Regions from separate parts of the Homo sapiens genome. Here all the other regions are linked to region 3. The links are contacts of gene promoters, found by promoter capture Hi-C in blood cells and fetal thymus (Javierre and others, 2016). All regions are on one chromosome and are shown on one strand. The core of a region is centred on a gene start or on the middle of the fragment in contact, and the rest is flanking DNA. Distances in the headings are between cores, read along the strand shown. Region 1 holds the start of IDH3A (isocitrate dehydrogenase (NAD(+)) 3 catalytic subunit alpha). Region 2 overlaps DNAJA4 (DnaJ heat shock protein family (Hsp40) member A4). Region 3 holds the start of CHRNA5 (cholinergic receptor nicotinic alpha 5 subunit). Region 4 holds the start of DNAJA4-DT (DNAJA4 divergent transcript).

The links. The method cuts DNA at HindIII sites, captures the fragments that hold promoters and counts their contacts. A CHiCAGO score of 5 or more calls a contact.
Region 1: a fragment that was not itself captured here is called in contact with the fragment with the promoter of CHRNA5 in region 3 in 3 of 17 cell types (fetal thymus, megakaryocytes and erythroblasts); the score reaches 6.6 in fetal thymus.
Region 2: a fragment that was not itself captured here is called in contact with the fragment with the promoter of CHRNA5 in region 3 in 1 of 17 cell types (endothelial precursors); the score reaches 5.1 in endothelial precursors.
Region 4: a contact is called between the fragment with the promoter of DNAJA4-DT here and the fragment with the promoter of CHRNA5 in region 3, in 8 of 17 cell types (fetal thymus, M1 macrophages, M2 macrophages and 5 more). The highest score is 7.0, in fetal thymus.

Annotation. Positions count from the first base shown.
Region 1 is chr15:78,144,645-78,149,769 of GRCh38, forward strand. IDH3A (isocitrate dehydrogenase (NAD(+)) 3 catalytic subunit alpha) reads left to right here and starts at 4,718. Exons shown (of 11, transcript NM_005530.3): 1 at 4,718-4,786. The coding sequence starts at 4,760. It overlaps LOC124903534 (a long non-coding RNA gene), which reads right to left and starts at 4,575. Exons shown (of 2, transcript XR_007064725.1): 1 at 4,464-4,575; 2 at 1-3,088. RefSeq lists a silencer at 4,678-5,125. The HindIII fragment of the contact is 1,753 bases long and covers 2,749-4,501 here.
Region 2 is chr15:78,278,170-78,283,631 of GRCh38, forward strand. It overlaps DNAJA4 (DnaJ heat shock protein family (Hsp40) member A4), which reads left to right. Exons shown (of 7, transcript NM_001130182.2): 6 at 1,876-1,976; 7 at 2,076-4,022. The coding sequence ends at 2,291. SKIC8 (SKI8 subunit of superkiller complex) reads right to left here. Exons shown (of 11, transcript NM_025234.3): 11 at 5,066-5,352. The coding sequence ends at 5,263. LOC105370910 (a long non-coding RNA gene) reads right to left here and starts at 631. Exons shown (of 2, transcript XR_932500.3): 1 at 39-631. The HindIII fragment of the contact is 2,950 bases long and covers 2,129-5,078 here.
Region 3 is chr15:78,563,557-78,568,951 of GRCh38, forward strand. CHRNA5 (cholinergic receptor nicotinic alpha 5 subunit) reads left to right here and starts at 1,964. Exons shown (of 6, transcript NM_000745.4): 1 at 1,964-2,269. The coding sequence starts at 2,164. RefSeq lists an enhancer at 1,162-1,351 and a silencer at 2,162-2,251. The HindIII fragment of the contact is 1,607 bases long and covers 996-2,602 here.
Region 4 is chr15:78,261,720-78,267,351 of GRCh38, forward strand. It overlaps DNAJA4-DT (DNAJA4 divergent transcript), which reads right to left and starts at 2,425. Exons shown (of 4, transcript XR_001751621.1): 1 at 2,338-2,425; 2 at 2,153-2,238. It overlaps DNAJA4 (DnaJ heat shock protein family (Hsp40) member A4), which reads left to right and starts at 2,843. Exons shown (of 7, transcript NM_001130182.2): 1 at 2,843-3,176. The coding sequence starts at 3,045. RefSeq lists silencers at 2,697-2,776, 3,087-3,376. The HindIII fragment of the contact is 6,233 bases long and covers 1-2,792 here.

The sequences.
Region 1 (5,125 bases), core at 2,375-4,874, 420 kb before region 3:
ATGTGAACCACCATGCCAGGCCATTGATCACTTTTGAAGGCTGCATGATGGTCCACTTCATTCATTTCCCCTAAATTACATAACCATTTCTTCTGTTAATCATTTAGACTGCTTTTTTCTCTTTTTAGTTTTCAAAATTAAGGATAATTGTATAATGAATATCTTTGTGTTGATGGCTTTTTCTTTCTGGATTTTTTTCCCCAAGAGTTTAATTCTCAGGAATGGATTTACTAGGTGAAAGAGTAAGAACAGTTAATGTCTCTCTTAAGACACATTGCTAAACTGTTTTCCAAAGAGATTGTGGAAATGTATAAGGCCAGCCAAGCAGTGCGCCATAAATTGGATGGTATAAGGCATTGCATTTTATTAATATTTTTAAATAAAAATAATTTTTTTTAGAAATTTGCATGCATTTGACTATTGTTAAGATTGAACATTTATTTAAAAGTTTATTTGGCTGTGAATTGATTATTCAGGTCCTTTTCCCGTTTTGTTTTGTTTTTTTTTTTCCCGAGACGGAGTCTTACTCAGTCACCCAGGCTGGAGTGCAGTGGTGTGATCTCGCCTCACTGCAACTTCCACCTCCCAGGTTCAAGTGATTCTCCTGCCTCAGCCTCCCCAGTAGCTGGGACTACAGGTGTGCACCACCATGCCTCCCTAAGTTTTGTATTTTTAGTAGAGAGGGGGTTTTACTATGTTAACCAGGCTGGTCTTGACCTCCTGACCTTGTGATCTGCCCGCCTCGGCCTCCAAAAGTGCTGGGATTACAGGAATGAGCCACCATGCCCGGCCTATGTTTTTTGTTTTGTTTTGTTTGAGACAGAGTCTTACTCTGTCGCCCAGGCTGGAGTGCAGTGGCACGATCTCGGCTCACTGCAACCTCGGCCTCCCAGGTTCAAGCAGTTCTCTGCCTCAGCCTCCTTTGTAGCTGGGATTACAGGTACCCGCCACCACGCCCAGCTAATTTTTTGTATTTTTAGTAGAGACAGGCTTTCACCATCTTGGCCAGGCTGGTCTTGAACTCCGGACCTCGTGATCCACCCACCTCTGCCTCCCAAAGTGCTGGGATTACAGGCGTGAGCCACCGCGCCCAGTCCCCTTTTCCCATTTATTTACTAAAGTCCTAATACCTTCTTTACCAATTTGTTGGATCTTTTCCTAACTTAGAGATAGGGATGAACCCTTTGCCAATCATATCTTTAATGAAAATAATATTTTAAATAAAGTAGGAAAACTGTTGAAATGAATTTCTTTTGTAACAAAAAATAAACATTTGGTATGTGAATAATGTATATTCTGTTTTGCTGATTTATTCACTTAAAAATTGCTATCTTGATTTTATTATTTATTTATTTGACACAGAGTCTCGCTCTGTCACCCAGGTTGGAGTGCAGTGGTGCGATCTTGGATCACTGCAATCTCCGCCTCCCAGGTTCAAGTGATTCTCCTGCCTCAGCGTCCTGAGTAGCTGGGACTACAGATGCACACCACCACCCCTGGCTAATTTTTGTTACTTTTAGGAGAGATGGGGTTTCACCATATTGGCCAGGCTGGTCTCAAACTCCTGACCTCAGGCGATCCACCCACCTCTGCCTCCCAAAGTGCTGCGATTACAGGAGTGAGCCACCGCACCTGGCCTCTTGATTTTAAAATCTTTTTTTTTTTCCTTAGAGTGAAGCACACCTGGATTGGATAGTGCTTGTTATTACAGATAAGGGTGCACTTTCTAGATTCTTCTCCTGAGTGGCAAAGTTTTCCCACCGTCTTGTCCAAACATACTTTGCTGATGGTATCTCTGGGCACTACACAGTGCAAGGGACAAGGAAAAAGGGCTTTTCCAGAGGAGAGTGACCTGCATCTTGGAGGAACTCTAGAACATGTTCGAGGAATGGTGACTGGGGCTTCTGGAGCCAAGGGCTGACTCAGGGAACAGATCTCAGCTCAAGGTGAGGTCATTTCTGTTTCCTGCATGTCCCTCCAGCTGCTGACATTTTACCTCTTCAAGGACTGATTCAAATGCCATCTCCATTGTGCAATCTTCCTTGATCACCCCCCAACTTCCATCTGAGACTTCTGAGTTTCTCCCTCACTAGATCTGGAGGGTAGGAGTGGGTCTTGTTCATTTTTTGTTCTCACAGTGCACTTGCTAGAGAATGGCTTGGGAAGCCTTTGTAGGATTGGACTGGCCCTCAGCGAAAGTTCAGCAGTTAGGAGAACTGCCTTAGTACTTAGGAAGCTTCCTAGTGTGAATGCCAGCATCATCACTTACTAGCTGTACTTCAGTTTTCTCATAGGGTTGTTGTGAAGATTAAATGAAGACTGGACAAAGTCAGTCAATGTTTATTTCACAATCACTGAGCAGCAAGTATTCCTTGTGTACCAGTCTCTGTTCCAGAAACAACGTCATAAGAGATCATCAAGATTATCTCTGGACTTAAGGCATATCTTCTCTCTATCTCTTTTGAGACAGAGTCTCGCTCTGTCACCCAGACTGGAGTGCAGTGGCATGATCTCGGCTCACTGCAACCTCTGCCTCGTGGGTTCAAGCGATTCTGATGCCTCAGTCTCCTGAGTCACTGGGATTATAGGCATGTGCCAACACGCCCAACTAATTTTTGTATTTTTAGTAGAGACAGGGTTTTGCCATGTTGGCCAGGCTGGTCTCCAACTCCTGACTTCAAGTGATCCACCTGCGTCGGCCACCCAAAGTGTTGGGATTACAGGCGTGAGTCACCACGCCTGGCCCAAAGCTTATCTTCTCAATGGCACACAGCAGAAGAGAATGTGATGTTTCCCAGGAGAGGTGGGAGCCAAGTGCTAGAGGGCTCTGAGTAAGGAGAGGGGGACACATTCGTGGGTCTTGGGGGCTTTTACAACTTTTACTACTTCCCAACATGTAAGCTGAGTCTTGACAAGGAGCTAGAATTTCAGCCAGTAGAAGTGGGGCAAGAGGGCATTGAGGCTGAGGGAATGGCACGACCATAGGCACGGAGAGGTAAAATATGGGAAGCATTTGGGGGCTGGCCAGCAGTCCTAGTTGGCAGGCGCTCCAGGTCTTTGGGGCTGGAAGGAGTGGTGGGAAATCAGGCTGAAAAAAGACAGTGGTGTGAGAGGAGAGTGCAAGGGAGAGCCAGGAGGTTTCAGAGCCGGGGCGAGCCCTGGTCAGAGCTGTGCCTGAAGGGGAGGGCAGGTTGGCAGGTGAAGAGGCTGTTGTAAGAGCCTGGGCCTGAGGTGGTCTGGCCCGAAGGAGGGCAGGGGTGACATTGGGGATGGAGGAACTGTGGGAGAACACTTCAGGATGGGACTGCCAGGGCCTGATGAGGGGAAGGGGCCCAATGGAAAGGGGTTGATAAAAGCCCTCCTTCCTGACAAGGCCACAGACTTAGCTGCAGTTTATTATTTAGGTCATAAAAGCTCTTGGGATCACTTCTCTACTGCACTCATCACCTCTCTGGGTGGGTAGGCAGCTCCTCTCTGGATAGAACTCTTCCCAGGGTAGGGTAGCAGAGACCTGGTTTAAACACCTGACCTCCCCTGGCACCCAGCTAGAGGCCTGGCCATCAGCAGGAACTCAGGAGTTTGTGATGGACAGGGAGAGGACAAGGGGAAAGGTGAGTATGGATGTTATTTCTTCAGAGAAGCATTCCCTGACCTCCAGGTTAGGTTTGAATCAGGTTGCCTGATTTTGCCTTGCCATAGCTCCTTGCTCTTTTGCTTCTTGGCGCAACAGTTTTAATGACATGTGTGTGACACTTGATTGAAGCCTGTCTTTCCTACTGGACACTAAGCCCCAGCACTTAAAACAGTGCCTGGTGTCTAGTTGACCCTCAGAAATATTTGTTGAGCTAAATAGACAGATTAGTAGTTGCCTGGGATTGAGGACAGGAGCGGGATTGACTATAAACGGACACAAGGAACATTTTCATATGCTCAAAAACTGGATTGTGGTGATGGTTGTGCAACTGTTTACATTTACTAAAAATCATCAAACTGTACACTTACAGTGAGTAAATGTTACTATATATACATTATACCTCAATAAAGCTGGTAAAAAATAAAATTCGGCCAGTCGCAGTGGCTCACTTTGTGAGCCTGGGGCAAGCAGATCGCTTGAACTCTGGAGTTCCAGACCAGCCTGAGCAACATAGCGAGGCCCCATCTCTACGGAGAAAAAAAAAAAAAAAAAAAAAGAAAAAGAAAAGAAAAAACAAAGTTGGGCTGGGCTTAGTAATTACTTGATCCCAGGAGGTCGAGGCTTTGTAGTGAACCTGTTCGCGCTACTGCACTCCAGCCTGGGCGACAGAGTGAGACCCGGTCTCAAAAAAAAAAAAAAAATCAAAATTTGTGGAATAAGAAAATTATGTGTCTTTCTCCACGGGATTGTAAATTCTATGAGGAGCGCTATATCCCCAAGATCCTAGAACATTAATCAGCACCTAGTAGGTGTGGAACAAACGTCTTACCTTAACAGCGAGTCAATGAACCAGGGAGGGGAGGAAGAAGCTTTCCCGGAGATGCCGGCCCCTCAGTTTCCGGGTTCGCCTGGCGCTCAGCCAGGCCAGTCACAGAGAGACGAGCCCGGCGATTCGCCAGCGGAATGTCCAGGGGCGGGGCAGCGAGCGAGCGCGAAGCAATCCTGAGGCGGTCTAGGGGGCGGGGCGTTCAGGGGGCGTGGCCGTGCAGGGGCGGGCTCCGAGCGTGGGGTGGGCGCTTGCGCACTGCCGCTGCGGCTGTTGCTGCGGAGCCAGGAGGGGAAGCGATGGCTGGGCCCGCGTGGATCTCTAAGGTGAGCGCTGGCAGGCCGGCGTGTGGCAGGCAGGCAGGCCGCGAGGGCTGGCAGGAGAGCCGGTCGCGTGCCGGGTGTGGGCGGGCGCGTGGGCCAGACAGGGAGGCGGTGGCTGCCCGCGGGGACAGCTTGGGAGCCGGTCCTGGTCGCCCGTGCCCCGCGCTCCGTGGCCGGCTCGCAGTGTATGGGCCGCCCCGGGCCGGGTCAGCAGCGCAGAGGCGGGGACGGCGTCAAGGTCAAGGCGGGGGGGCGCCGGCCCTGCTCCTGCCGAGACCCGGCTGCCGTCACCCGCATCCGCCCAGGCCAGAGCCCAGGCTTCGCGCCGAGCCCGGGAAGGTC
Region 2 (5,462 bases), core at 2,354-4,853, 280 kb before region 3:
CTGCCGGGAGAGCCTAACTCGTGGTCTTCTTCTCTTACCTGTAGTTTTCCATGCTTGGTCAGTTTCCCAGCTCCCAGCAAGCTAGAAGCAGAAGCATGGGGAGTAGGGCTTGAGAGCAGCAAGAAGCGACACCTGATAGGAATGGGGAGACAGAAAAACCAGTCATATGTAACTTAACGAAGGGGATATGTTCTGAGAGATGCATTGTTTGGCGATGTCGTTGTGGTGTGAACACCATAGAATGTACTCACACAGACCTAGATAGCATAGCCTGCTACACCCTAGGCTGTGTGGCATAGCCTGTTGCTCCTGGGCTAAAACCTGCACAGCAGGTTGCTGTACTGAATACTGTGGGCAGTTGTAGTACGATGCTGAGTATGTGAGTATCTGAACATAGGAAAGGTGCAGTAAAAGTTTGGTGTAATCTTTGCAACCATCTTCATAAATGTTGTTGACTGAAAGGTCACTATGCTGTGCATGACTGTATTTCTTTTTTTTTTGAGACGGAGTCTCGCTCTGTCGCCCAGGCTGGAGTGCAATGGCGTGATCTTGGCTCACTGTACACTCTGCTTCCCGGGTTCACGCCATTCTCCTGCCTCAGCCTCCCAAGTAGCTGGGATTACAGGCACACACCACCATTCCTGGCTAGTTTTTCTATTTTTTTTTTTTTTTTTTTTTTTTAGTAGAGACGGGGTTTCACTATGTTGATCAACCTGGTCTCGAACTCCTGACCTCGTGATCCGCCCGCCTCGGCCTCCCAAAGTGCTGGGATTACAGGCGTGAGCCACCGTGCCTGGCCATGACTGTATTTCAAAAAAAAAGAATAAACAGGAACACAAAAAGCCAGCAGCCTGGAGCAGTTTAGCTAAGGGGTTGCTGTCCTGCACAGTCAGTAGGCTCTGAAGGCCATGTCTGAACCACAGCCCTGCCTGCGAATGAATCTCAAGGATAGTCATTGGCTTACTTTATTTTTAAAACCTCCTCTTTAAAGATTTCCTCTTGAAGAGACAGCTCACTTTCTACATAGTCCCGTATGGAAGTGGACTGCTGAAGAAATTAGTGTTTCCATTCCCCTCCACCGTCTCCCCCATTTTTTCCGAACATTTCTTTCTGTCTTTGTCCATTTTCATCGCTGAGCTGAAGAGCATGCTTTATCAGAAACCCTTTTGTCCCTTTCCTTTTCCATGCTTAGAGGGAAGTTTCTGACTTGGGAGAACGCCTTAGAGTTCTTGGGGTCTGAACTCCTCTGATGCCTTCCAAAGTCACGTAGCTGTAAGACCCAGCGGGTGCCAGCCGGGAGGGTGACTCCAGCTCAGCAGCATGTATGGAAGTGCATTGTGACCATGAAGGAGTCTGCCAGTGGCCAAGCCACCTAGTGAGCTCCCTACCAAGGAACCTGGGTGTCACCTGCAGGTGGCCAAGAGCCAGTTTTTATGCCAGGCAGGGGACTGGTTGGACTCTATTGAGGCTTCTTCCTGTCTGTGGGGAGCACTCCTGTCCCCCTCGTGGTAGGGATACCTGTCACCCCACAAAGAGGCAGGGTGACAGGTGTTGGCCCCATTTTAGGCAGACTTGGGTGTCATGACTTCTAGTTCACTTGTTTTAAACCTACCTGTGATGGCAGCTGCACCATGCTGCCCTCTTGACACACTGCTGGAGCCCAGAGCACAGGCCAGAGTCTCAGCCTGAGCCCCTTCCCCAGGCAGTACCTGACAAGGATACCTGGGATTGGGGCCAGCTTTCCAGTCAGATGCCACGTTTCCTTTGCCCACTGCCACGGGGCACTAGGGCCTGCCGCAGGCTCTCCCATGAGGGAGAACGACCTCTGCAGGCCCCTCTGCCTTCCTCCTTCCTAATTGACCCTTTCTCTGGCAGGTGAGGTGATAAAGCACGGGGACCTGAGATGCGTGCGCGATGAAGGAATGCCCATCTACAAAGCACCCCTGGAAAAAGGGATTCTGATCATACAGTTTTTAGTAAGTTCACTATGTTTCATTGTCATGGACATATTATTAAATGCCTTAATTGGAAGGGGAAAAAACAGCCACCTTTCTTTCCCACCTCACCCTTTACAGGTAATCTTTCCTGAAAAACACTGGCTTTCTCTGGAAAAGCTTCCTCAGCTGGAAGCTTTACTCCCTCCTCGACAGAAAGTGAGGATTACAGATGACATGGATCAGGTGGAGCTGAAGGAGTTTTGTCCCAATGAGCAGAACTGGCGTCAGCACAGGGAGGCCTACGAGGAGGACGAAGACGGGCCCCAGGCTGGAGTGCAGTGCCAGACGGCATGACGTGGTGCGGGGCAGCGTGGCCCCACCGGACTAGCACATGATGAATGTAAAGTTGGCACAATGAAAATGACATCGCTTTAATGGCCTTGTGTTTGGGATGTCCTGTGTATGTGTTCAGCATTCTTAATTGCTGAGTGTCTTTTTGGCTTTTCTTTTGGTTGTAACTTAAGTTATAGCTTAATTTATATTTAAATGTTTTAAGTATAAATCACCTCTAGTCTGCATATGGAATCTGTTCATTTCTATTTTCAGGATATACTTTTGAGATGTCAGTGATTGCACCAATACTTTGTGCTTCTAGTGGCTTTGCCATAATTCAGTGTCACCAATAAGGCACAGCCCAGTTAGCAGCTTAGCCCCCCTAGCAAACCCCAAGGCACAAAGTGGGCATCCTGACTCATCTCTAGGTCTGTGGTTTCTCCCCTCTTCCCTTGGCAGAGTTATTGAGGGCATGATCTCAGGGCTGCTAAGATAACATTTCTGAGGATTCTAGATGATCCTCTTAAAGAATAAAAGCACATCCGTGGATCGGACATGGCTGCATGTGCCTGCTTAACAGGGCCAACTTAGTTCCTACTGTTCTGTGCCCTTCAGTGGATGGAACGTGAGTGTCTGATCATCTCTCTTGGAAGTTTTCTGAACCTTCCAAGCTCTGTGGTGAGGACAAACCAGTGTTTGAATCATATGCTGATAACTGTTTGCCTGTGACCCTCACACCTTGTTCTTCAGGGTTTTAATGATTTTCTGTTGACAACTTTTGCAATGCTTTCCCACCAAAGTGCTTACTTGTAAAGAAAACTAAATCCTTCTGTGTCCCCGGCAGCCTCAGTGCAGCAACAGAAGCCAAGGGAGAATGCTGCTGGTTTGGCCCATGGCACAGCCAGCTTCTCTGACCAGTAATCCGGGGTGACTTGAGGGTCTGCAAAGGCATAGAACTCCCCAGTGTTTTCCACCTCATTCTCCCAGATTGAGCTCCCTTCCAAAGGATCGTTCCTCTCATTGCACAGCCATATTACAAAGGGTTTCCTGCTCAAGTGATGTTTTGGTAAGAACTTCGCTGAGTTCCACTGTGGATTACAGTTTGTATGGACTACTACTGTAAATTATAGCTTGTTTGGAGGGATATTAGTCATTATTTTATTCATGACAGGTAGACTACAATTCGAACTTAGGGTTACCTCAGTCTTTAGCCATTACTGCTTATTTCTTTTCCCCAAGTCACAAAAAACTTGTAAGCTGCTGGGTTAAAGCAGAGGCCACCTGTCAGATCTACCCTACCCTTATTTGGTTACATGGCACCTGAGAGTTTCACTCAGACCAGGGATCTTCCTTAGGAGGGTCAAAGTGCAGATCAGACCATGCAGGTAAGGTGAACCAGCTGCACGGACCAGGTTCCCGCAAAACATTGCCAGCTAGTGAGGCATAATTTGCTCAAAGTATAGAAACAGCCCACCTGTGCCCACTTTGACCATTGGTGAGGATAGATATAAAATCACTTCTTCCAACGAAGCCTAGGTGAAAATCTATTTATAAATGGACCACAACTCTGGGGTGTCGTTTTTGTGCTGTGACTTCCTAATTATTGCTAAAGAACTACTGTTTAGTTGGTAATGGTGTAAAATTACATTCAGCTCCTTCTTGTCATATAAAAGGAATTTGGAGGGTGTCGCTTAAAATTTTATTCCACCTGTACATTTGTCACTTTAAAATTAAAATTGAGCTGGTATGAGAGATAAGTGGCTTTGCTTTTTCCTTTTTTTGAGAGCTCACATAAACAGTGTTAGGTGCCTGCCAGCTTGCCTCTCATTGGTTGACATAATGGAATGAAGTTTCCACCCTCATGGAGCTTTATTTTGGGGGTGGGGGTGAATGCAAACAAAAAGTGGTAACTGCTATGAAGAACAAGAGGAATGGGAATGAGTAGAAGGGAATGGGAAGAAGGCCTCTACCAGGAGCTGGCATCTGGGCAGAATCCTGGATGCAGCTGGGGAGCAGATGTCCGAAGGTCTGGAGGGAAAACATTCCAGGCAGAGGAATGGCAAGGATGATGTGGTTACAGGAGGGTGAGCAAGGCAAGCAGGAGGGAGAAGTGGGGGGCTATGATAAAGAGTGTGAGCTTTATTCTGAGGGCAGTGAGTGGTTTGAGGAAAAGCACATGACCTGACTCATAAGCATATGAAGTAATGATCAATAAAAAACACGCTTCCAAGTGTTCAGCTACTTACATCTTTCTCATTAACATGAGTCTCAAGGGGGCTGATGAAGAGGAAACTCTGAGGTACAGATACTCTGAAATAACTAAGGCAGGGCTACAGTTCTACAGCATGAGGCACAGGCTTCAGCCTAGGCATTGTTAAGGCAGCAAGAATAGCAGCCTGCCTTCCGATACCCACCTAGCGAGTTAGAGACCTCTCTGAAATTAATAAGGGGAAGGAGGGCTTGGCAGGGGACATCTTTAATACATCAAGTGGAAGGATGCCCAGATAGACAGGAGTACATAATGTTCCTATGCAGTCAAATATACTCTTTCCTTCAGGACTCCATTCTAAAATAGATTAGCTTCTTTATCACAGCTCCGGGGAGCTCGCTGCTGTATCTCACTGCATAAGTCAACTCCCTGGAAGAGTCAGCCTGTATTTCTAAGCTGGAAAGTTAAAGAAATACCTGGATCTCTTGATGGCTAAGGCAGAGATTTGCTCTTAATGCCAATCCCTCTCACTGTTTCACTGGTAATAGGGTAACTGAAAAAAGAAGCATGTTCAAGGACACCAGTGTTTGCATTAAGAAAGCTTTATGTTAAAGTATGAACAGCATTTCCAATAAAACATGAAAAGATTCATATTGTATCTACAAAATTTAAGTCTTTGCTACAATAAATGCTATATTTCTTTTAAACAAGCCTAAGAAGGTAAGGAATGTCATGATCAATCCGTACATTCTCTTTGCAGCATAAGCCTGGAGACTTTGATGTTTAAATTGGACAATCATAGATGTGAATTTCCTGGTCATCTCCAACAGACACAATTTTTGAACCATTTCCATTGTATTTTACTCCCCAGACCTGTAAATTTAAAAAAAGATAGTTCTACAAATGCCTTTATTCTTTATAATATTTATGAAATGAACATCCTTATTTTCTCGTTATTCTGAATCTACCAAAACTGAGATGAG
Region 3 (5,395 bases), core at 714-3,213:
GGTGTCTGGGATGCAAGAACTGTGTAATAGTCCCTTTGGCTAAGTCTCAGAAAGTTGGTAGATAGATGCCACTTTAGGGGAACTTTGTAGGTGGTGGCTGCAGCAACAGCAGCAATTTTCATTGTCATTTGGTCAGCTAATGTCTCCTAGCAGTGTGAAGATGCCTGTTATCAGAGTCAGGTGTAGCACCATATCCAGCAACCATGAGTAATTGGCGTATCCCCCTGGAAAAACCATGTAAGATGTAGACATTATATTCTGATTATTTGTTTGGATTTTAAAATGCCCAACAAATGTCACGCTTTGCCTTTCACTTAATAGCAACAATTAATAGTGTTTTTCATAGATTATGTAAATAACCATCATTCTCATGATTATTGATATAACATCTAGGAGTTCCAATTATACTTGCAGTGGCTGCACTGACAACCATTTCATTCTAGTTTTGCCACTGACAGGTACTGTGACCTTCAGCAGTTATTCAACTCCTCTGTTTCAAATCAGTTAGCTGTAAAAGCAGAATAACATTTTAAAGTCATCCAAACACTGTTAGGATGAATTGCATAAGTGCCTGTAAGTCCCATAAATTCTTCAGAGTAAAATGTAAATTTGCAGTGAAAGGATGATAGGTACTGTCTTTCATTTCTGTGCAGAAGTGCAATTAATTACTAATCTGGTTAACATCTTGTGCATCCCTTTTCTGTGGCCCCTTTGTTTAAGTCCTGTTTAAACAGATTGGCTCCATTGGATGTAATTTACATTTTTCCAGCTGTATTTGGACCTAAGAAGAGCATCTTCACTGAATTTTGCTGTTTAGATTCTTTGCAACCAGGTTTAGTTTTTCACAGATTTACTAGTCTGGAGGGTGGAGTGAAATTTTTGCTCACAATGAGTCTTAGAGGTGTCACCTCCATAAAGCGTTCTGTGAAGAGTCAGCGGCTCCCTCTGCCACTGAAGTTTAAAGATAATTCGCCTGAATCCCTTCAGCCAAATGAAGCTTTCTAATTATGGACAGAGAGGATGAAATATAGGGTCTGGAGGGATTTGAGACGGGTTTCCAGCAGTCGGCACCAATCTCCACCAGAGGTGCTAAGTGTCTGTAGCAGATAGTCACTAATATTTACAAATGTTAATTGATGACAACACGGAGGGCGATGCCCACGTTTGAGGCGACTGCATATCATTTCCGGGGATGGCTTGAGTGAGTGTCAGAGCTGTACCTTCCCGAGTCCTCTAGTTTATCTGCCTCGGTTCCTCGCTTCCAGACGAGGAAACAGGCCCAGAGAGGAAAGTGACTTGCCCAGGGTTGTCTCGCTGGTCCACAACACAGGTCTCCTGGTGGGGACCCCTTGGCTGACACGACAGCCCCAGGAGGCAGTCAAGCTGCGACTGGTACTTCCTGGTGAGAAAGACTTGAGTGGGCAGCGGGGCCCATGGAGAGCGCTGCAGCCTGGAGCAAGTCCCCCACCACTGTGATTCTGCCCCAGCCTCCAGCTTGTTTCTTTCTGATCACAACTCGGAATTACTTTATTTACATTTTCTATCAGCTGGGAGCAATCTGTCCCTCTGCTTCCCCTTTTGGTGCTGAGCACAGAGCAGACATCAATGAATAGCTGTTATCTTAAGGTGTGCAGTGACTAGGCCAAGGACATCCGGTGGTTAGAGAAGGACGCGCCTGCGATGCCAGCCTCAAGTCTTTGCCTTCCTGGAACTCTGCTCCAGGGTCGCACCTGCCCAAAGGAAGGCCTGGAGGCGGGGGCCAGGGCGATGGGGCTGGGCCAGGCGTGGAAAAAGAGGAGCTAGGAGCAGACAGGGTTGGACCAGAGGCGGGGCGGGGTGGGGAAAGGGTTGGTGGGGATCGGAGGCGGGGCTATGAATAGACCGGACTGGGCCAAAAGGAACAAGGCGAGGATTGGGCGGGGCCAGAGGGAAATAGGGGCGGGGCTAGGCGCCGGGAGCTTCCACATGCGTCCCGAGCCCGCCAGAAGCTGCTAGGCTGAGGCTGCTGTCCCGGCGGGAGCTGTGGCGCGGAGCGGCCCCTCTGCTGCGTCTGCCCTCGTTTTGTCTCACGACTCACACTCAGTGCTCCATTCCCCAAGAGTTCGCGTTCCCCGCGCGGCGGTCGAGAGGCGGCTGCCCGCGGTCCCGCGCGGGCGCGGGGCGATGGCGGCGCGGGGGTCAGGGCCCCGCGCGCTCCGCCTGCTGCTCTTGGTCCAGCTGGTCGCGGGGCGCTGCGGTCTAGCGGGCGCGGCGGGCGGCGCGCAGAGAGGTAAGCCCGGGCTGCAGAGGGGCGGGGCGGGAGCTGGCCCGGACTCCACATCGCGGTGCCCAGGAAGCCGCCAGGCGACGGCCGCCGGAAAACCTGGTTGCGAGGGGAGGTGGGTTTTTTTCTCCTGGGGGCTTGGAGTGAGGTTTCAGTTTAAATGTCCAGATTTGCTCATTTAAATGCAGAGAAAGGGCTACTTGGGTGGGTTTTCTTTGTTGTTCCACGACCTGCATCGCTGGAGACTACGAGGCTGGCTTAGCGTATACTTCCACACAACTTTTTCAGTAAAAGATGCCACTCTTGTCCAGCAGGGCTTTCCTGTCCTGGTGGCAGCCAAGCTTCCCATTTTGTTGCCCATTTACGGGATATAGAGACTCTGGGGTTCATTCTAGGGGTTGGGACTTATCTTCCACCTCCTGCCCGCCGCCTCTTCCTCCATCCCTGTCCCCTACCCACCGCAGCATTTGAAAACCTTTCCTTTCGCCGGAGATGAAAGGTGTGTGTTGTAGCAGGCTAGGCGGCCAACTTCCCTGGCTTCGGGGCTAATCGTTTGCATCCAGAGTTCCTCACTAGCTCCTTAGAGCACAGCTTTTTTCAGCCTGCTGTTTTTCAAGAGGTTTTGGACAGGAATGGAAACAACAAAAGAAATCGCGTAGTCCTACATGTTTCAAGTGCTTGGGAAAGTTTTAGAGTCAGTTCTCTCAATACCTTGAAGAAAAACACGTTTGTGGAGCAGCTATGGTGTGATCTAAACGTAGAAAAGCTAAGCATCCGTTAAGCAAGATATGATTACAGAAGTTCACTACGTCTGTATTTCAGGTTTTATGAGTGAGTTTCTTAAATAGTGGAAATATTGCAAGAACCTTTTCTTGCCTTTCCTTTGTTAAGGTTTTTAATCTATGGCTCCTGATTTTAGGAAGTAATAAGACTAGAATAATTCATTGCAGGATGTATTGCTTAGTGTAGACCGAAGAGAAATAAGATGGAGGGTGATTTAAACAAATGAAGAAAATCCTGGGCAGAGAGAGTTAAACAGAAAGAAAGGAATGTGATTTTGGAGCCAGGCAAACCTGTATTCAAATTATGGCTCTGGTGCATCCTGACTGGACGAACTTCTCTCAGCTGTTTTCCTTCTTTAAGAAATGGCGGGCCGGGCGCGGTGGCTCACGCCTGTAATCCCAGCACTTTGGGAGGCCGAGGCGGGCAGATCACGAGGTCAGGAGATCGAGACCATCCTGGCTAACACAGTGAAACCCCGTCTCTACTAAAAATACAAAAAAATTAGCCGGGCGTGGTGGTGCGCGCCTGTAGTCCCAGCTACTCGGGAGGCTGAGGCAGGAGAATGACGTGAACCCGAGAGGCGGAGGTTACAGTGAGCCGAGATCGCGCCACTGCACTCCAGCCTGGGCAACACAGCGAGACTCCGTCTCAAAAAAAAAAAAAAAGAAAAGAAAAGAAATGGGGGTAATAATCATGCTTACCTCTCAGAGTTCTTTTGAGGATTAAATAATGCATATAAAATGCCAGGCACAGTGCCTGACACTCGAGAAAATGGTAGTTCTCTACCCCTTTTGATGAAACTGAACTTTAAAAATCTGTTTCATGTCTTTTAATATAGAACACTGTAGCCAAGCATTAAATAGTGTAAATAGCTATCTCCCTTCATGCATGGTGTTCAGTGTTATAACAAAGTGAAATCGATTAGTTCCTGCTTTCTGCCCCACTTAGTTAATATCTCTCTCATAATAACCATCTGGTTCTATTGCACTTCTGTTTCCTCCTGCTTCCACGTAAGCTCCTTAAGAACTGTGATTCTTGTTTATCTTTGTATCGCCAACACCTGCCTTAATGTAGGAGCCCAGTGAAGGTTTGCGGAAGGAAGGAGTGGAACAGTATTACCTCTCTGGATATTAGTTTCTCCATCTGGATGGTGAGGGGCCATTAAAGGATCCCCCTTCCACCTTGAAAATTATAAGATTCTGTGTGCTCTTAGAAGTGATCATCTTGAAGAACAAAGTGATACTGAATGGATGATGTAATTGCACACTTGCTCTTAACTGTTAATATGCATTTGTGTACAACTGTCGTTCCATGTGGGTGGCTGAAAGTACTGTCTGGAAATAGGAGACCTGCCACTCGCTGTCTGTGTTTCCTTGGACGTATTACTTGACCTTGCTGATTCTTTGTTTCTCTCTCTTTAAAATGAAAGGGCGGTAGTAGATGTTTTTAAGTCAACTTTAAGTTTTTTAAGTTCAAATATAATTACCTTTATTTTTACAATTTATTGTTTTCATATTCGTCTTAGGTTCTTAATAGTAACTTTTCCCTGTGGTTTTCTGTGAGCCAGTTCCCAGGTAAAGAGAATATCTAGTCAGCCCGCAGCTATTATTTGGCTGATGAACGGTCACAGAGCTGTGGAAAGTGGCTCAGGAGACAATTAAAGTATAATATATTAAAGTATAATGAACTAGTACATCAAGATAATACAAGCATTTTAAACTGACCTGTGATTGGGACAGTGATTATGGAAGTTAGATAGTCATTAACTACCTAACTAGTTATATTTCTTACTATTTCTTAGCTATGTGACATTTTAAAGCCAATGGTTATATTTCTTAGCTGTGTGACATTTTATTTTTTTAATTTTTTTTTTAAAATATTACTTTAAGTTCTGGGATACATGTGCAGAACCTGCAGGTTTGTTACATAGGTATACATGTGCCATGGTGGTTTGCTACACCTATCAACCTGTCATCTAGGTTTTAAGCCCCACATGCATTAGGTATTTGTCCTAATGCTCTCCCTCCCCTTGCCCCCAACCTCCCGACAGACCCTGATGTGTGATGTTCCCCTCCCTGTGTCCATGGATTCTCATTGTTCAACTCCCACTTATGAAAGAGAACATGCGGTGTTTGGTGTCTGTTCCTGTGTTAGTTTGCTGAGCATGATGGTTTCCAGCTTCATCCATGTCCCTGCAAAGGACATGAACTCATTCTTTTTTATGGCTGCACGCTATGTGACATTTTAAATGGCTGAACCTTAATTTTAATTACTATATGTAGTGGCTGAAAATGAAATAGGAAAATGAAATAATTCATAGAAAATGAGAGCTATGAAAGATTTTTTTCT
Region 4 (5,632 bases), core at 1,175-3,674, 300 kb before region 3:
TTGCCCAGGCTGGCATGCAGTAGCACAGTCTCAGCTCACTGCAACCTCTGCCTCCCGGGTTTAAGTGATTCTCCTATTTCAGCCTCCTGAGTAGCTGGGATTACAGGCACGTGCCACCACACCTGGCTAATTTTTGTATTTTTAGTAGAGACGGGGTTTCACCATGTTGGCCAGGCTGGTCTCAAACTCTTGAGCTCAAGTGATCTGCCCACTTCGACCTCCCAAAGTGCTGGGATTACAGGCCTGAGCCACCACACCTGGCCAAAAATATCTGATTTTACTAGACAATCCTATTGTTATTTATTTTTTATTTTTTGAGACAGAGTCTTGCTCTGTCACCCAGGCTGGAGTGCAGTGGTGTGATCTCAGCTCACTGCAGCCTCTGCCTCCCGGGTTCAAGCGATTCTTGTGCCTCAGCCTCCTGAGTAGCTGGGATTACAGGCGAGCACCACCATCCCTGGCTAATTTTTGTATTTTTAGTAGAGATGGAGTTTCACCAAGTTGGCCAGACTGGTCTTGAACTCGTGGCCTCAAGTGATCTGCCCACCTCGGCGTCCCAAAGTGCTGGGATTACAGGTGTGAGCCACCACGCCAGGCCTTCATCATAGAATTATTGCCCACCCCCACCACCCTGTCCGTGACAAAATCGTCTTCCATGAAACTGGTCTCTGGTGCCAAAAAGCCTGGGAACTGGTGATCTTAAGGATGTGACGTTGAATTATTAGAAACTGTGTTGCTGTCTGTTCAGTCTTTATAGGCCAAGACTGAAGCCTAGTTGAGAAGAGGGCTCATAGGAGCCTGGCTAAGTTCCATCAAGAAGAGAATCACTATCAGCTTCTATACCTTAGCCCCTGCCCGCACCCCCCCACCCCCAAAAAGCATCAATATTGTGACTATATACCAGGTGTTTCACAAAGTTATGAAGTAGTTATAATTAATATCCTCATTAAAAGGTTAAGAAAACTGAGGCTCAGAAAGGTTAAGTTGTCTGCCCAAGGTTCCACAGCCAGAAGTAGCAGTGCTGGGATTTGAACCTAGGTCTAAGTCTCACTGGTTCCAGAATTCACTGTCGTCCAAAGTGCATAGCTCCATTCTATGTTTCTAGGCTCTGTCTTTAAGCCATCCCTCTCCTGCACATGCCCATTTTACGAATGCCTATGGTCCCGAGTACTAAATCTGGACAAGTATGTGACCCTGGGCAGTGGATCTCGGCTCTGGCTGTACCACCTGGGGAGCTTGAAAAACACTGATGCCTGGGCCTCACCCCTAGAAGCTCTAAGGTAACAGGTGTGGAGTGCAACCCAGAGGGATTTTTAGAAGATTCCAGGTGATCTCTGTCAGGAGCCAGGTTTGAGACCCACTGCGCTAGGAGTCTTCACAGTTATCATCCCATTTGATGCTTATAAGAGCCCTGTGAGAAAGGCAGGCAAGTGGCAATCCCCATGTCCTGCTGACGAAGAAAAGTGTTGAGATGCTAAGGCTCAGACAGTAAGATCTGGATAGAAAACAAAGTTTCTGACCTCTAGCTCTGAGTTCTCTGCCTAAAGGTTCTGCTCTACAAGGCATAATTTAAAAAAAAAAAAAGCAACATCTCCAAGAAGAGCAGCTTAATTTCTCTTGTACAGTACAAGTCACTTCTCACCCCCATGGAACACATGGAGGAGAGGTAGTACCTGCTTCAGCCACAGTACCCAAAACAAGGCCAGGGCATCCCAGGGAGGTGAGCAGTGACCCCCCTTTCTGACAAACTGTTCCCCTGGCAGAAGCCAAGGGAGGGCTAGGGGACAGGGGCCTGCAATTCTGTGATAGCGTTGGGGCCTGCTTTCCACGCCCACTTTTCTGCAACGGTTTGTGATCTGGACTCCCTGAGCACCCGTTGGGAGCTGGGGGCAGCCTAGGGAAGTCGGGACCTACTCCTGTACCCTTCCAAGGCAAGCATCCTGGGCCACCTAGCCGTTTCAGGGTCCAGGCCATGGGACCCCCTGTGCATAACACTGGGCCCAACAGCCTGGTCGGGCCCTGATGTTTGCTCACTGATGATGTGCAGAGGAGAGGGGGCAGTTTCCCACTTCTGGGAGAAGAGAGGGCACTGTCGGCCCTTGGCAGACTTGGGGGGCGTCACTGCCCATATGTGGGGGACGTCACTGCTCACCTTGAGGGACTTAAGGGTTCCCAGTGGTGGGCATTCGAGAGGATACTGTCCACATCTGGGGCCAGCAAAGGACCCCTGTACCTCAACTGGAAGGCCAGAGGTTCACCTCAGCCTTGCAGTCATGAGGCAGCAGAGGGCCCCTACCCACTCCAACCCCCTAAAAAATGCAACAATCCCAGGCACACCTTAGGCCGCAGCCTGGCTGTGACCGAACAGACGGCGGCCACACCCCCGGGGAGAGGCCGGGTGGGGACCGCAGGGCGCAGCTCTCCCAGTCCCACCCTTCGGCGCAGGGCTCCGGCCAACACAGCCCTCCAGGCCGCCTACTCTCCAGCCAGCCGGCTCCACGGACCCACGGAAGGGCAAGGGGGCGGCCTCGGGGCGGCGGGACAGTTGTCGGAGGGCGCCCTCCAGGCCCAAGCCGCCTTCTCCGGCCCCCGCCATGGCCCGGGGCGGCAGTCAGAGCTGGAGCTCCGGGGAATCAGACGGGCAGCCAAAGGAGCAGACGCCCGAGAAGCCCAGGTGAGCGGCTGGGCCGCGCCGGACGGGCGTCGGGGGTCTGGGCCGCGAACCCGCCGCGGGGCCGCCGGAACCTCCGCGAAGGTTCTAGGCCTTTGTGGCGTCACCGTCTCCTTGCGGAAGCTTCCGCCGGCGCCGAATAAAACCCGCCGCGGAGGAGCCGGTGGCTCTAGTGCGGTGGAGCCAGGCGTGGAAGTCGGTCCGGCGCGGGGCGGGGGGCGGGCGGGAGCTACAAGCGGCGGCGGCGGCGGCGACCGTGACCGTGACGCGCGAGCGGGCGGCGGGGGCGCGGGCCAGGGGCGCGGGCCAGGGTGCCGGCAGGGGCGTCCGGGGCGCTCTGACCGGCCTCGCCCGCCCCCCCCGCAGACACAAGATGGTGAAGGAGACCCAGTACTATGACATCCTGGGCGTGAAGCCCAGCGCGTCCCCGGAGGAGATCAAGAAGGCCTATCGGAAGCTGGCGCTCAAGTACCACCCGGACAAGAACCCGGATGAGGGCGAGAAGGTGCGGGGCGGCGCGGGGCACGGGCCGGGCTCCCGAGGGGCCAAGGGTTATTAAGCCAGGAGCATTGAAGGCGACGGGAAACCTGAGCCGCGTTTGTTGGGGAGGCTGTCGCCAGGCGCCTCGGGGCCAGGCCGGGCAGAGGTGGCGGGAGACCCTGGGCGCCGTGCGGCGCGGTCGGTGGAGGGCGCTTCGCCCGCGGAGGAGGCATGTGGTGCGGCACTTGGGTCCCTCGCGAGTCCCTGCCGAGCCCATTCATTCCTCCATTCGCTCCACAAGTGTTTGGGTAGCCCCTGCCGTGCGCGCCGGACTAGTTCTCATAGGGTGTGTTGGTTCCCTGTGGGAGAGGCGGCCTGGGAATCGGGAAACTGAGGCACACACAAACAGTTGTTTACTTGCTGGGAACGACTGGCTCATATTCTCTGTTGATGCATAAACCCTAGGGATGAGTGTCTTTAATCTGAGCTGGTACCTTGGACAAACGCCGTGCCTCTCTTGAGAATGACTAGCTGGATTTGTTCTGTGCACCTACTGCCTACCTGATAAAAGCGTCAGATAGTGAATAATCCCATTTTCTTTATTAAACAGGGACACGGACATCTGCAACCTGACATCAGCTTGTACTCATATTCTGGGTTTTCGGTGACAAGTGACACACAGTTGATCATAAGTACCAATCATAGACTGAAAATGCTCTGCATTTTAGAGACAGAAGTTAAAAGCTTTTCCATCCTGTTTACAGAAAGTTTGCTTTTTATCTCTAAAGAGGCTCATGACCCACCTGAATAGGTGAATTGAAGGATGAGGCATTGCAAGGAAAGGCTGCTAACCCTCCCGTTCCTCCTTTCACTTCTTGCCATTTTCTTACAAAACTTTGGTTGTTCCGCATGGGTCTTGAGAGGTGGGGCCGTTATAGTAGCTGATAGCAGTGTCACTTGGGCCACGTTTGAAACCACACCAATCACCCATGTAGCATTTAAGACCTGTGGAAACGACGCTGGAATCAAAATACCTGTCTGTGTTAGTTGTTCCAAGCTGGAGAAAGCTACTTCAGGACGGTTGGCTGAATGGCAACAGTGATGGAATATTTATATTTAGCCACATGTGCTGAATGTGGCTGTCACAAGTTTAAAATGCTTTCCTGTAAGACCATTTGTCTGTTACTCACTTGCGTTCTTTCTCATCTATATTTAGATGGCTTACTGTAGCTTTTAAAGGCACTGGCGTTTTACATGGTGCTGGTGATTCATCCACCTGCTCCCTACATTCATTGTGGTCCGCTTCTGACAGTCTCCTTTAAGGAGAGCTTGTAGGCTTCTAATTTCACATTTCAGCAAGCTGGCTAAAGACATGTGGGAAAGCCTGACCCTGGATTCAGGTCAAATCTCAGCACTCACAAGAGTAAGTTCATGCCTCTGTGTATACAGTTAGAGCTGAATATGCTTTTGTTCTGAAGCTTTTATTTTTAAAAAATTAGACTTGACCTGTACTACATATGTGTAGGTTTCACCCTGTCTATACCTGTCTGGGCAGGTTGTTTGGTTTGTTTTAAACTAATATTTATTCATAGCCAGGCACTGAGTTAGTGTCACATAAATGAGGCCCTTGGCAGTGAGGTCTGGCAGGCCCATCAGCTTGGAGGGAAGGGTTCTGTGATGTGCCCATTGCCAGGAATACTTTCCTTCCTCTACCTTCATGGAAGGGGATAAAACTCTTTAGTTCTCAGCTAAAACATCTTCCAGGAGGCTGCCTCTGCCTCATAGACTGAACCACAGGCCCAACGTGCATCCTACTTTAATGGTGATTACTTGTTTGATTAACTGTATTCCTTTAATGGTGATTACTTGTTTGATAACTGTATTACCTGCCATAATGTAAGCAGGGCAGTGACTGTGCCCCCATGGCCACTTATGGGGTGAGTATCTAGCTGTGCAGGGTAGGTGCTAAAATGTTTGTTAGCTGGCTGAGTAAATGCACTTTAAAAAATTGTGTGTAGGAGGAGAGGGCCCTATAAAGGCACAAATTGGAAGGGAAATTGCAGTGAAAGGGATATTGGGAGGAGAGTGGCAATTTAGATCGGAAATCAAAGAGGATGAGGAGACTGGGGACACAATTTATAGAAACGGCTGTAGAGTTCCCCAGAGAGAGCTCATTCATTCATTCATTCATTCATTCAACAAATACCTCCTCTTCTGGTCCCCACTGTGTGCTGGGTGCACTGTGCAGGCCTTTTGTGAGTGTGTATGTGAGTGTGTGTGTGAGTGTGTATGTGAGTGTGTGAGTGTGTGAGTGTGTGTGTGAGTGTGTATGTGAGTGTGTATGTGTGTGTAGTTCTTTTCCACTTTATCACAGGTAGAACCTTTAAATTTTTTTTTCCTCCTAAGTTCGTCACTGTATTATTAACGTCTCTTCAAAAATAGACTACACCAGTTCTTTACCCCTTGCTGGGAAAACTGAGA